Linked DNA regions of Homo sapiens: region 2 is linked to region 1. Evidence: promoter capture Hi-C in human tissues and cell types (Jung and others, 2019). All regions are on one chromosome and are shown on one strand. The core of a region is centred on a gene start or on the middle of the fragment in contact, and the rest is flanking DNA. Distances in the headings are between cores, read along the strand shown.

Region 1 (5,244 bases), core at 510-3,009:
TTAGATGGGTCTAGCCAGAACTCGTCACTAATTCGTGATAGAGCTTGAACTGCTTTCCCAAATACTATGGAGAAAAAGAAAGGTGATGCTTATATTCTTTCCCTCTAACAATAAAAACAAATCACAAGACTAGTTCAGCATTCAGAGGACTCAAGAGAAATTCAAAAATAACAGTATCTTACAGACTAATGCTACATTACTTTAATACAGTATAATACCCTTGGCAAAATGCCAGACACATAGTCAGGGCTCAATAAATTTGTAGTGTGTGAAATGATAAAATTGACCGAAATTTGTCCTTCTATATGTTTACAGTGTTGCATGGAGCTACTGTGCAAACCAATTTCCATACTAATGTATTTTACAACTTGATTTAGATAAATGTATTTGACCCCCCAAAAACTGTGAAAACAGTGCATGGAGAAGATAATCTGAAGTGGTTTTAATAGCTTGATAGCCAAGTCACAACAAGTCATGAGAGAGAAATTAGGGGTATCCAACATACATCTCTGATGTTTGAGGGCAGCCAGATTTCCCCACCACAGAACACATTTAGGGCTGGAAAACACACTAGTCTGATCCCGTACGACATTGTTAATGTTCTTTTTATTTTTTATTTTTTTTGAGACAGAGTCTCACTCTGACACTCAGGCTGGAGTGCAGTGGCACGAGCTCAACTCACTGCAGCCTCAACCTCCCGGGCTCAATCGATCCTCTCGCCTCAGCCTTCCAAGTAGCTTGGGATTACAGGCGCCCACCACTAAGCCCGGCTAATTTTTGTATGTTTAGTAGAGACGGGGTTTCATCATGTTGGTCAGGGTGGTCTCGAACTCCCGACCTAAGGTGATCCACCCGCCTTGGCCTCCCAAAGTGCTAGGATTACAGGCGTGAGCCACTGCACCCGGCCTAACTTCCATTTTGAAAGCGCCGTTTACAACACTAATAGTTCTTGTACATTCCATCTATTACTGGGCTCTTTACACGCATTTCCATTTCATTGCCTCCAAACAAACTCTGTGACGAAGGTGCTGTCATTACCCCTGTTTCCGTTTTAGAAACTGAGCCCCAAAGAGATTTAGTGACTTTTCCAAGTTCATACATTTTTAAAAATGGTAGAATCTGGGGAAAAAAAAAACCAGGTTAATGCTGTTCTCTTGGCACAAAAATACTTTTACTGTCCAAGCATTATTTTTTTCTCTCAACTCTTCCCCATGCAGTCCTCAGCATCCCGAGTTTGTGGCCCGATGGTACAACTCTATTTCCCGGATACCACCCATATTACATCTGCCTCTAAGTCACACGAGATGGGTCCTCATCCTCCCCTCAGAAGTTAACAGGGACTTGAGTGGGTGGGGCTGTGGCCAGGGCGTGCGTCCTCAGTCATTGCGCAAAAAGGCAAAGAGGAAAAATTAGACAATGGTAGGGACGACCTATTAACGTCTGCTTTTCTCTCTGCTAAATGGGAAGACAACAAAGGCCGCTCCACCTTTCACCTGACTGCCGCTCATCACGCACTTCAGCATGGCTGCCATCCGCCCTAAAAAGCAGGCTCGGAAGGCGCGCCTCAGCTCGACGGCCCAGGTGCCCGGATGTTGCCCGCGCTTTTCAAAGCTTCGCGATCTCGTCTCTGCACTCTACCACCCCGCCTCCACAAGTTCCCAAACGGCTTTACGGCGGAGAAGGGTCCGTGCGGGCCTCCGTACGGCAATTTCTGTCTCCCTCTGCTCTCATTGGTTGCGGTTAAGTGGGCGGGTCGCCGAGGAGCCTGAGGAAGAGGGCGGCGACGGTGGTGGTGACTGAGCGGAGCCCGGTGACAGGATGGTGAGGGCTGCAGTTGCGGCGACCAAGGCCTGGCTCTCGGGTGGGGTGCTGCGTTGTTGGGAGCCGTGGGGAGGCCGAGGGCGAGGAATTGGGAAATCCCGGAGGCCTCGGCGTCAGGGCCCAGGCGCTGGCCTGGGAAAGGCCCAGAAGAGGTCTAGGGAAGGAAGGGAGCGGCCACCTCTGGGTGCGGCTGGCCTAGGTCTCGTATCCCGGCCCCAAGGGGCCAGAGGCCATCCAAGGGGTAAAAAGGCCCCTCTAGCAGCCCGACCTGTCACGAGACACGCACGCCCGAGCCAGGGAAGGCCTTTGGTCCTATACCTCGAATGTTCCGGGGATAGGGGCACGGTCCTCCGTTTCCAGACGGTTCCTACTCGTTTCCCGCAAAAAGCACCTCCCGCTGGTTGGGGTGTAGTGGTGGAAGCTGGCCTCTCGAATGCAGAACAGGAAGTAGCGAGCAGAATTTCGTACCCGTTTAACTTTGCCATCTAGGGAAAGGGAATAAACCACCCTCCTCGCTCCTGAAATAACATCTAGCTGCCATTGAGATGAGCAGGTGTGCTCTCAGAGGGCGGGATTTGGCGCTTGCAATTGCTGGAACTGTTTCTTTCCACGGGTTGCTACGCCTCTTTAGGGTAGGATTCCTTAATGATGTGTGAACTCATTGAAACTGTTGGGAAATTTTTGTGAATATACACATTTTTCTGGGGAGAGTGCCGGTGTTGGAGACTTACCTAGTCTCCCCCAGCCACCTTCAAGCAATCACCCCTTCACCCCCAGTAGTTTGGTGCCCCTCAGACCTTCCTACATAAAAACTGGGGGCCTCTACTAGAGAGGACTCAGAGCTGTAATCATATTTTCTTTCTTTCTTTTTGAGATGGAGTCTCGCTCTGTCGCCCAGGCTGGAGTGCAATGCCGCGATCTCGGCTCACTGCAATGCCGCCCGGGTTCAAGCCTCAGCTCCTGCCTCAGCCTCCCGAGTAGCTGGGATTACAGGCGCCCGCCACCAAGCCCGTCTAAATTTTTGTATTTTTAGTAGAGACGGGGTTTCACCATGTTGGTCAGGCTGGTCTCTACCTCCCGACCTCAGATGATCCACCCGCCTCGGCCTCCCAAAGTGCTGGGGTTACAGGCGTGAGCCACCGCGCCCGGCCTGTAATCATATTTTCAAAGGTGCCTTTGACTCTTAAAAAGTCAATTGTTTGGGGCAACCCACTCGGGTCCCCTTCCACCCTGTGTAAGCTTTGTTCTTTCGCTCTTCACAATAAATCTTGCTGCTGCTCAAAAAAAAAAAAAAAATCAATTGTTTGAAATGGAGCTGTGATTATCTTCATATTTGTGTTGATGGAGGTTGGCTGTAAAGGGACGTCTACCTCTGACAGGCATTTATTGCATTCTTTTTTATTTTTACAAGGAAACCAAAGAAGCTATGCATTTTTAAGATTATTACTATTGCATGACAAACAGCCTTTTCAAGAGGGGGACTTACAGACATGGCAGCCAGAGATTTATGGTGCATGCTTCTTTAAAATCTTTAATCTCACTTTTAATTTTTGCTTCTAAACAGACTCCAATTTAAAGTAATCCGTTTACAGTAATTTCGAGACACCTATCCATGGGAGAAGACATAATTACTTGCCATGGTTTCAAAATATTAATGTTTCTCAAGTTGTTTGAGAAGTGATCCCTCTTATTTAGGGTAGTTGTACTGGAACATCATTTTTCATATGAAATAGAACTGGGAAAAATTTAGCATTAGCCAGTTCTTTCATGATTAAAAGCATTTTATTTGGCAAAGGATACAGACGTTCAACACTCAGTACAGTGTCCAGAGTCTGTGGGCAGCAAATTCAAGTGTGGGAAAGGTCCAGTTTTACCTGAATAAATGTGTTTGTTTTTATTATTTTGTCTTCACCTTTAGTTGATTTGTTCAACACTTGATAATGTATTCATGGTGCTGTGTTGCATCAGCTACAAAAAATCACCTAGCCGCAGCATAATTTTCCAGCTACTAGAATTTTGAATGTAAGATAATTAACATCCATATACTTGAATAATTAAACCCTAAGAATCCAGAAAATGTTAGCCTTTCAGCTATTACTGATGATAAATTTTCCACAGTGTCTTGTAGAAATCCAAATTCATTATTTTATAAAATCTTATAAAAATCTAAACAGAATGGAAAACAGAGATGGAAGTCGATGTACAGAACAAGATTAGGAAAAGTAGGAGAAACTGACAAGACAAATTTATTAAAAAGTGTGTGTGTCATGTTCAAAAATAAAGCAAATATTTATTTTGGTATTGTTTTGAGCACAGCTGATTTTTAACATTTTCTTTCATAACACTCAGAAATCATTAACAATTGTTTGCTCATTTGGTATGGGTTTTTTGTTCTCTTTTTTTTTTTTGGTTTCTTTTTGTTGCTTTCTTTTAACATTGGTCATGTTTCACCCTTTTTTTTTCATCCCCCCTGTCTGCAATCAACTTCTTCATTCCACTAAGGCTGGGCACAGAGTAAGTTTCTTCACTTAGCTCCTACTAACAGTGGTGGTTGGGTGGCTGTTTACTGACTGGATTTCTTACCCTTTTAAGGTCTGTTGAAAGGAAGTAACCGAATTCCCATGCTTTGATTGGGTTGGCTCTTTATTTTAATTTAATAAGACTGCCATTTCCAGGATCTTTTGCTTTCTTAAAGGACTCTATCATCTATGTCTATCCCGATTTGTCAAAGTGTGGAATTTGGGCGGGAACATGTTTCAAAGTATGACACGTGTTATGTAACACTATTTCCCCATAACTTTGTCATCAGCAGGAAACCAGAGGATTCTGTCCTAGTAAGGATCCCTACTAATTTGAAATGATTGTGTGGTCATTCATACAGTTATATCTTTAGACTGCTAATAGTCTTGAGTCTTGGAGATAATCCACAGTACTTTATAGAATTAGGTCATCAATCATTATAAAGTACCATGTCTTACTAATGTTCTTTCTGGTACATTCAGATTGAACAGCTCATTCATTATTAGTACCAAACATTTCAACCTGTTGTAGACATATACCCTTTTATGAGTTTGGGGTGGTGGTTGTTGTTGTTGTTCTTCTTCTTCTTTTAAATATAGAAATCTATTATTTTTACCTTTTTCTCAAAGCAAGATTCCCATACTAACTATGTACTTCAATCCATATCAGAAGGAATCCCCCTCTAAAATGAAGATTGTTCTATATCCAGGTACTTTTATGTTGATTACCAGTGAGGGTGGAAACTTCATAGTGGTTTTTAGTTTTACAGATGTTTTGTCCACTGAGATCTGCATTGAAACAATTAATATAGGTCATACAACAAATACCTGCTGAAACTAGTCTTTATAAAGAAGAATCTTACTTAACAATTTTAAAGTGTGCTAATTTCATAACCTTGTGTTA
Region 2 (5,032 bases), core at 1,112-3,611, 39 kb before region 1:
GTCAAAAGTTTCCAGCAGCACAGTATGTTCAATCAAAATGGGCAAAACTGCAGCTGGCAGAACACCAAGCTCATGGGTGGGAGTGTTAGGAGAGGACGAACTGTCCAATGGGAGCAAGACTCTCACAGACAGAATAGCAAAGGACACTTCTGGGGAAAGAAAAACCTCAGCATAAAACAGAGCTTCAGTGCCAACCTGGTCATTAATCTACACTTCTAGAATCTGATTAGCTTTCAAAGGCTGAGCAGATGAGAGCGTCTTGCATTGTTTTCTCTTTATTCCACAGAAAGAATTGACCTGATTTCCCCCAGTTTTACAGTCTTTTTCCCTTTTTTTTTTTTCATGCTGCATGTATCTCCTTAGTTAATGGTCCCTCTTATCTACAGAATATTATTTTAACCTTAACTTACAGGTTTTCCTTTAGTAGACATTTTTACAAAATGTTGATTATCTAAATATGTAAGTGAAAGTCGGTTCCCTGCAGCAGCACATGGCAGAACTTTACATGTGCCACCTTTTTCCTCAGTCAAGTGAAGATGAACCAGAAATTTTCTGAGTGCATTTAGTGTGAATCCTCATAGGCATGTGTGCTTTTGTTTGTTAGTTTTTATGCTTTCTCTTCACAAATGTTGTCACATGTTGCTTACACAAGTGTTGGGGTTTTTCCGTGGAGCTTAGGGTGCTTTGGATCTGGTGCCTCCCTTCCGGGTCGGTATCTGATTTGCTTTCCTGGCTCTTGTTCCTTAATTACAGATTAAGGCGGATTATCAGATCTCACCTTTCCCTCCCCAGGGAGGCCTGGAAGGAGGGAAACTGGCCTTAAGAAGTCGCCAAGAACCAGCCTCAGGAGGCCATGATCTCTGAATATAGGATCTTTTCTCCCCACCCGGGGTTTTCCCCCATTTTTATGTCTGTTTTCATCAGGCATTGTCAGAGAAAAAGATCTTCCATCTGTTTTTTTTTTCAAGAGTTGTACACAAAAAAGTTTAGTGAGACATCTGCCTCCTGTTCCTGCCCTTAGCCACATATTCTGTCCTCAAAGGTTTCTTTATGAGCAGTTTCTTTAGTTTCTTTTTCTTTTTTTTTTTTTTTTTTTTTTTTTTGAGACAGAGTCTCGCTCTGCTGCCCAGGCTGCTGGAGTGCAGTGGCGCAATCTCGGCTCACTGCTACTGCTGCCTCCCTGGCTCTAGCAATTCTCCTGCTTCAGCCTCCCGAGTAGCTGGAATTACAGGTGTGCACCACCATGATCTAACTTTTTGTATTTTTTAGTAGAGACAGGGTTTCACCATGTTGGGCAGGCTGGTCTTGAACTCCTGACCTCAAGTGATCTGCCCACCTTGGCCTCCCAAAGTGCTGGGATTACAGGTGTGAGCCACCACCCACAGCCCGCTATGAGCAGTTTCTTTGATTCTCTCCAGATCTATTCCCTGCATATAGAAGCATCCATGTCTGTGTGTCTTTCTGCCTTTTTTTTTTTACGGAAATGGTTGCACATACGACACACCGTCTTCACCTTGCTTTCTTCAACAGTATATTGAAGAGTTTTTTCCCCCAATTTGGAGAGTCAAATATTTTGCTGCTTCATTCAGTTATGCAACAGATATTTCTTCTATTTTTTTTTTTTCTTGAGATGGAGTCTTGCTCTGTTGCCCAGGCTAGAGTGCAGTGGCGCCATCTCAGCTCACTGCAACCTTCAGCTTTGGGGTTGAAGCAAGTGATTCTCCTGTGTCGGCCTCCCAAGTAGCTGGGATTATAGGCGCACGCCACCATGCTTGGCTAACGTTTGTATTTTTAGCAGAGATGGGGTTTCACCATGATGGCCAGGCTGGTCTTGAACTCCTGACCTCAAATAATCTGCTTGCCTCGGCTTCCCAAAGTGCTGGGATTACAGGGGTGAGCCACCACGCCTGGTCAAGATATCAAGATATTTCTTGAAGACGTGTTACATGAGGCACACTAATAAATACCTACGTATGATGACCACTTTGGGACCCTTGGGAGACACAGAGTCCTTACTATGCCAAAATACTGTAGCTATTTCCGGTGAATGTATTCTTTTTTTTTTTTTTTTTTTTTGAGACGGAGTTTAGCTCTCGTTGCCCTAGCTGGAGTGCAATGGTGCAATCTCAGCTCACTGCAACCTCTGCCTCCCAGGTTCAAGTGATTCTCCTGCCTCAGCCTCCCTAGTAGCTGGGATTACAGGCGTGTGCCACCACGCCCAGCTAATTTTTTGTATTTTTGGTAGAAACGGGTTTTAACCAGGCTGGTCTCAAACTCCTGACCTCAGGTGATCCGCCCGCCTTGGCCTCCCAAAGTGCAGGGATTACAAGCGTGAGCCACTGCGACTGGCAAGTGAATGAATTATTTTTTTCCTTTTTCTTTTTCTTTGAGATGGAGTCTCACTCTGTTGCCAGGCTGGAGGGCAGTGGCACGATCTTGGCTCACTGGCTCACTGCAACCTCCATCTCCCGGGTTCAAGCAATTCTCCTGCCTCAGCCTCCTGAATAGCTGGGATCACAAGCGTGTGCCACCACGCCTGGCTAATTTTTTAATTTTTAGTAGAGACGGGGTTTCACCGTGTTGGTCAGGCTGGTCTTGCACTCCTGACCTCAGGTGATCCACCCACCTTGGCCTCCCAAAGTGCTGGGATTACAGGCGTGAGCCACCACACCCAGCAGTGAATGAATTCTTATAAGATTGGCGGCTGGGCGCAGTGGCTCACGCCTGTTATCCCAGCACTTTGAGAGGCCAAGGCGGGCAGATCACGAGGTCAGGAGATCAAGACCATCCTGGCCAACATGGTGAAACCCTGTCTCTACTAAAAATACAAAAAATTAGCCGGGCATGGTTGCGGGCACCTGTAGTCCCAGCTACTCGGGAGGCTGCGCCAGGAGAATGGCGTGAACCCAGGAAGCGGAGCTCGCAGTGAGCCGAGATCGCGCCACTGAACTCCAGCCTGGGCGACAGAGCGAGACTCTGTCTCAAAAAAAAAAAAAAGATTGGCATGTTGTTCTCCACAGGTATTCATCATCCCACCCTCACTATGGCACTCCAGGACCCAGATTCAAATATTCGAGGAAACTGATGAGTGAAATATGTGAATAAGAGGGGGTGGGCTGGGTGGCTGGTGATTACAGTGGCTCATGCCTGTAATCCCAGCACTTTGGGAGGCCGGGGCAGGCGGATCACCTGAGGTCAGGAGTTCAAGACCAGCCTGGCCAACGTGGCAAAACCCTGTCTCTACTAAAAATGTAAAAACAAATTAGGCGTGGTGGTGCATGACTGTGGTCCTACAGGCACTATTTTACATGCCTGTAGTCCCAGCTACTTGGGAGGCTGAGACAGGAGAATCGCTTGAACCCAAGAGGCAGAGGTTGCAGTGAGCCTATATCGTGCCACTGCATTCCAGCCTCGACAACAGAGCGAGACTTGTCTCCAAAAAAAAAAAAAAAAAAGGCGGGGGGGGATGGAATTCGGCTGTAAAGAATTAGGAATAAAGACTCATTTCCACTAGGATTTTAGAGGTGTGTTAGATCTGACTCAGAAGAGGACCCTTCCTCCCTCCTTCTCAGCCACTTGTGACTAATCATCAGACTTGGTTTTACTCGGTAGTTTCAGTTAAAAATTTGAAACATTTATATTAGAATTTTCGATTAACTTTTTTCAGAGTTGGGAATTTCAGAATGACTTTTTTTAAAAATTGACTCCATTATGATAAATCAGTTTTTCTTGCAGAAAGCTTATTACATTGTAAAATAGTGCCTGTAGGACATTTTCAACTCATCTGTAAAGGGCCTTCTTAACTTTGTCCCTCCCCTGTCCTTGCCACAGTCCGGATGCTGCTGATAGCACGTCTTTCGATGTCCAGCTAGGAGACATTATCCTGACGGCAACAGATGGACTCTTTGACAACATGCCTGATTATATGATTCTTCAGGAGCTAAAAAAGTTAAAGGTAATTAACTCAAAGGTTAGCTCTTGGGAAAAGTGGCCCTCTCTGGATAGCTGAGTTTTATGGATTCAGTTGCATTATCTCTTTGTAGTTTTGGAAAGAACTATTTTGTGAATTTCAGGAAAATAATAATAGCTCTGGTCTTTCAAATAATTAGAGCACTTGGAAAAAGAAGCTTCCTACCCAAGGTTTTCATAGGCTGGTAGAAGTAGGAAAAGTCTAGATGGAGGGCATTTCTTGTTTGTATCTTTATTTATATTTTAATGGTGTCGGGTCCTGGTTGTTTCTCCTTTTATTCTTCTAACACCCAGCAGGTGTTGAATCAGGCAAAGACAGGAAATAGTCATGCCAGAGCCAGCCAAAGGCAGCAGGCCACTGGAAGCCTCAGTGTGACCTGAGCTGCCACCAGTAACCAAATAGTATGGGTTTCTCCCATAGAGGAAGGAGGTGAAACTAGGCTTTCAATTTTTTCCTGGCTTTGTGAACATACTCTGGGAAAAATGAGTCTTTTTCTCATGAGTCTTTACCTCTAACCAGTATGACTTTGGGTACGTTTCTTTCTTTTTTTTATTATTTATTGAAGTTGCTGAGATCTGAGGGTTTCTTAAAACTGTTTAAGCAGTATTTTCTTCATATAAAATGGGGCATCCTAAAGATCCTCTTTTATAGGGTTGCAGTGAGGATTAACTACAGCCCTGTGTAGGAACTCCTTAGCGCCACGCCTTGTCTGTGGAGTGCAGTCAGTGTGAGGTGCTTCCTTGTCACAGGCACCGTGCTCTGTGTGGTGACACAGTGGTGAGCAGAATCTACACAGTCCCTACCTGTATGGAACTTACATCCTAGTGGAGGAAAATAGATAAATACAGGGAAGTAAATCTATGATGTAATGTGGGTGCTAAATAAGAAAAACAAAGCTGGATAAGGGAATAGAGAGTAGAAGGGACTGCTACTACTTTAGATAGATTGGTCAGGAAGGGCCTTTTTGAGGAGGTGACATTGAAGCAGAGACCTGTCATTATACTGAAACTAGAGCTGAAGTGGACCTCGTGTTCCCATCCCCGTTTTGCAGATGAGGAAGTT

What was found. The method cuts DNA at HindIII sites, captures the fragments that hold promoters and counts their contacts. A contact is called where the count stands out against the background at its distance.
Region 2: a contact is called between a fragment that was not itself captured here and the fragment with the promoter of VPS29 in region 1, in 5 of the 25 tissues and cell types used here (H1 embryonic stem cells, bladder, hippocampus and 2 more).

The regions. Positions count from the first base shown.
Region 1 is chr12:110,498,626-110,503,869 of GRCh38, reverse strand. VPS29 (VPS29 retromer complex component) reads left to right here and starts at 1,759. Exons shown (of 4, transcript NM_016226.5): 1 at 1,759-1,821. The coding sequence starts at 1,819. It overlaps RAD9B (RAD9 checkpoint clamp component B), which reads right to left and starts at 1,539. Exons shown (of 11, transcript NM_001286535.2): 1 at 1,487-1,539; 2 at 1-64. The coding sequence starts at 1,532. LOC124903015 (a long non-coding RNA gene) reads right to left here. Exons shown (of 2, transcript XR_007063458.1): 2 at 4,045-5,129. RefSeq lists an enhancer at 1,791-1,930 and a silencer at 4,452-4,746. The HindIII fragment of the contact is 3,487 bases long and covers 714-4,200 here.
Region 2 is chr12:110,538,745-110,543,776 of GRCh38, reverse strand. It overlaps PPTC7 (protein phosphatase targeting COQ7), which reads left to right. Exons shown (of 6, transcript NM_139283.2): 4 at 3,832-3,955. Among named protein-coding and RNA genes, the nearest start is that of RAD9B, 39 kb to the right of the region's middle. RefSeq lists enhancers at 2,323-2,823, 2,824-3,324. The HindIII fragment of the contact is 6,941 bases long and covers 1-5,032 here.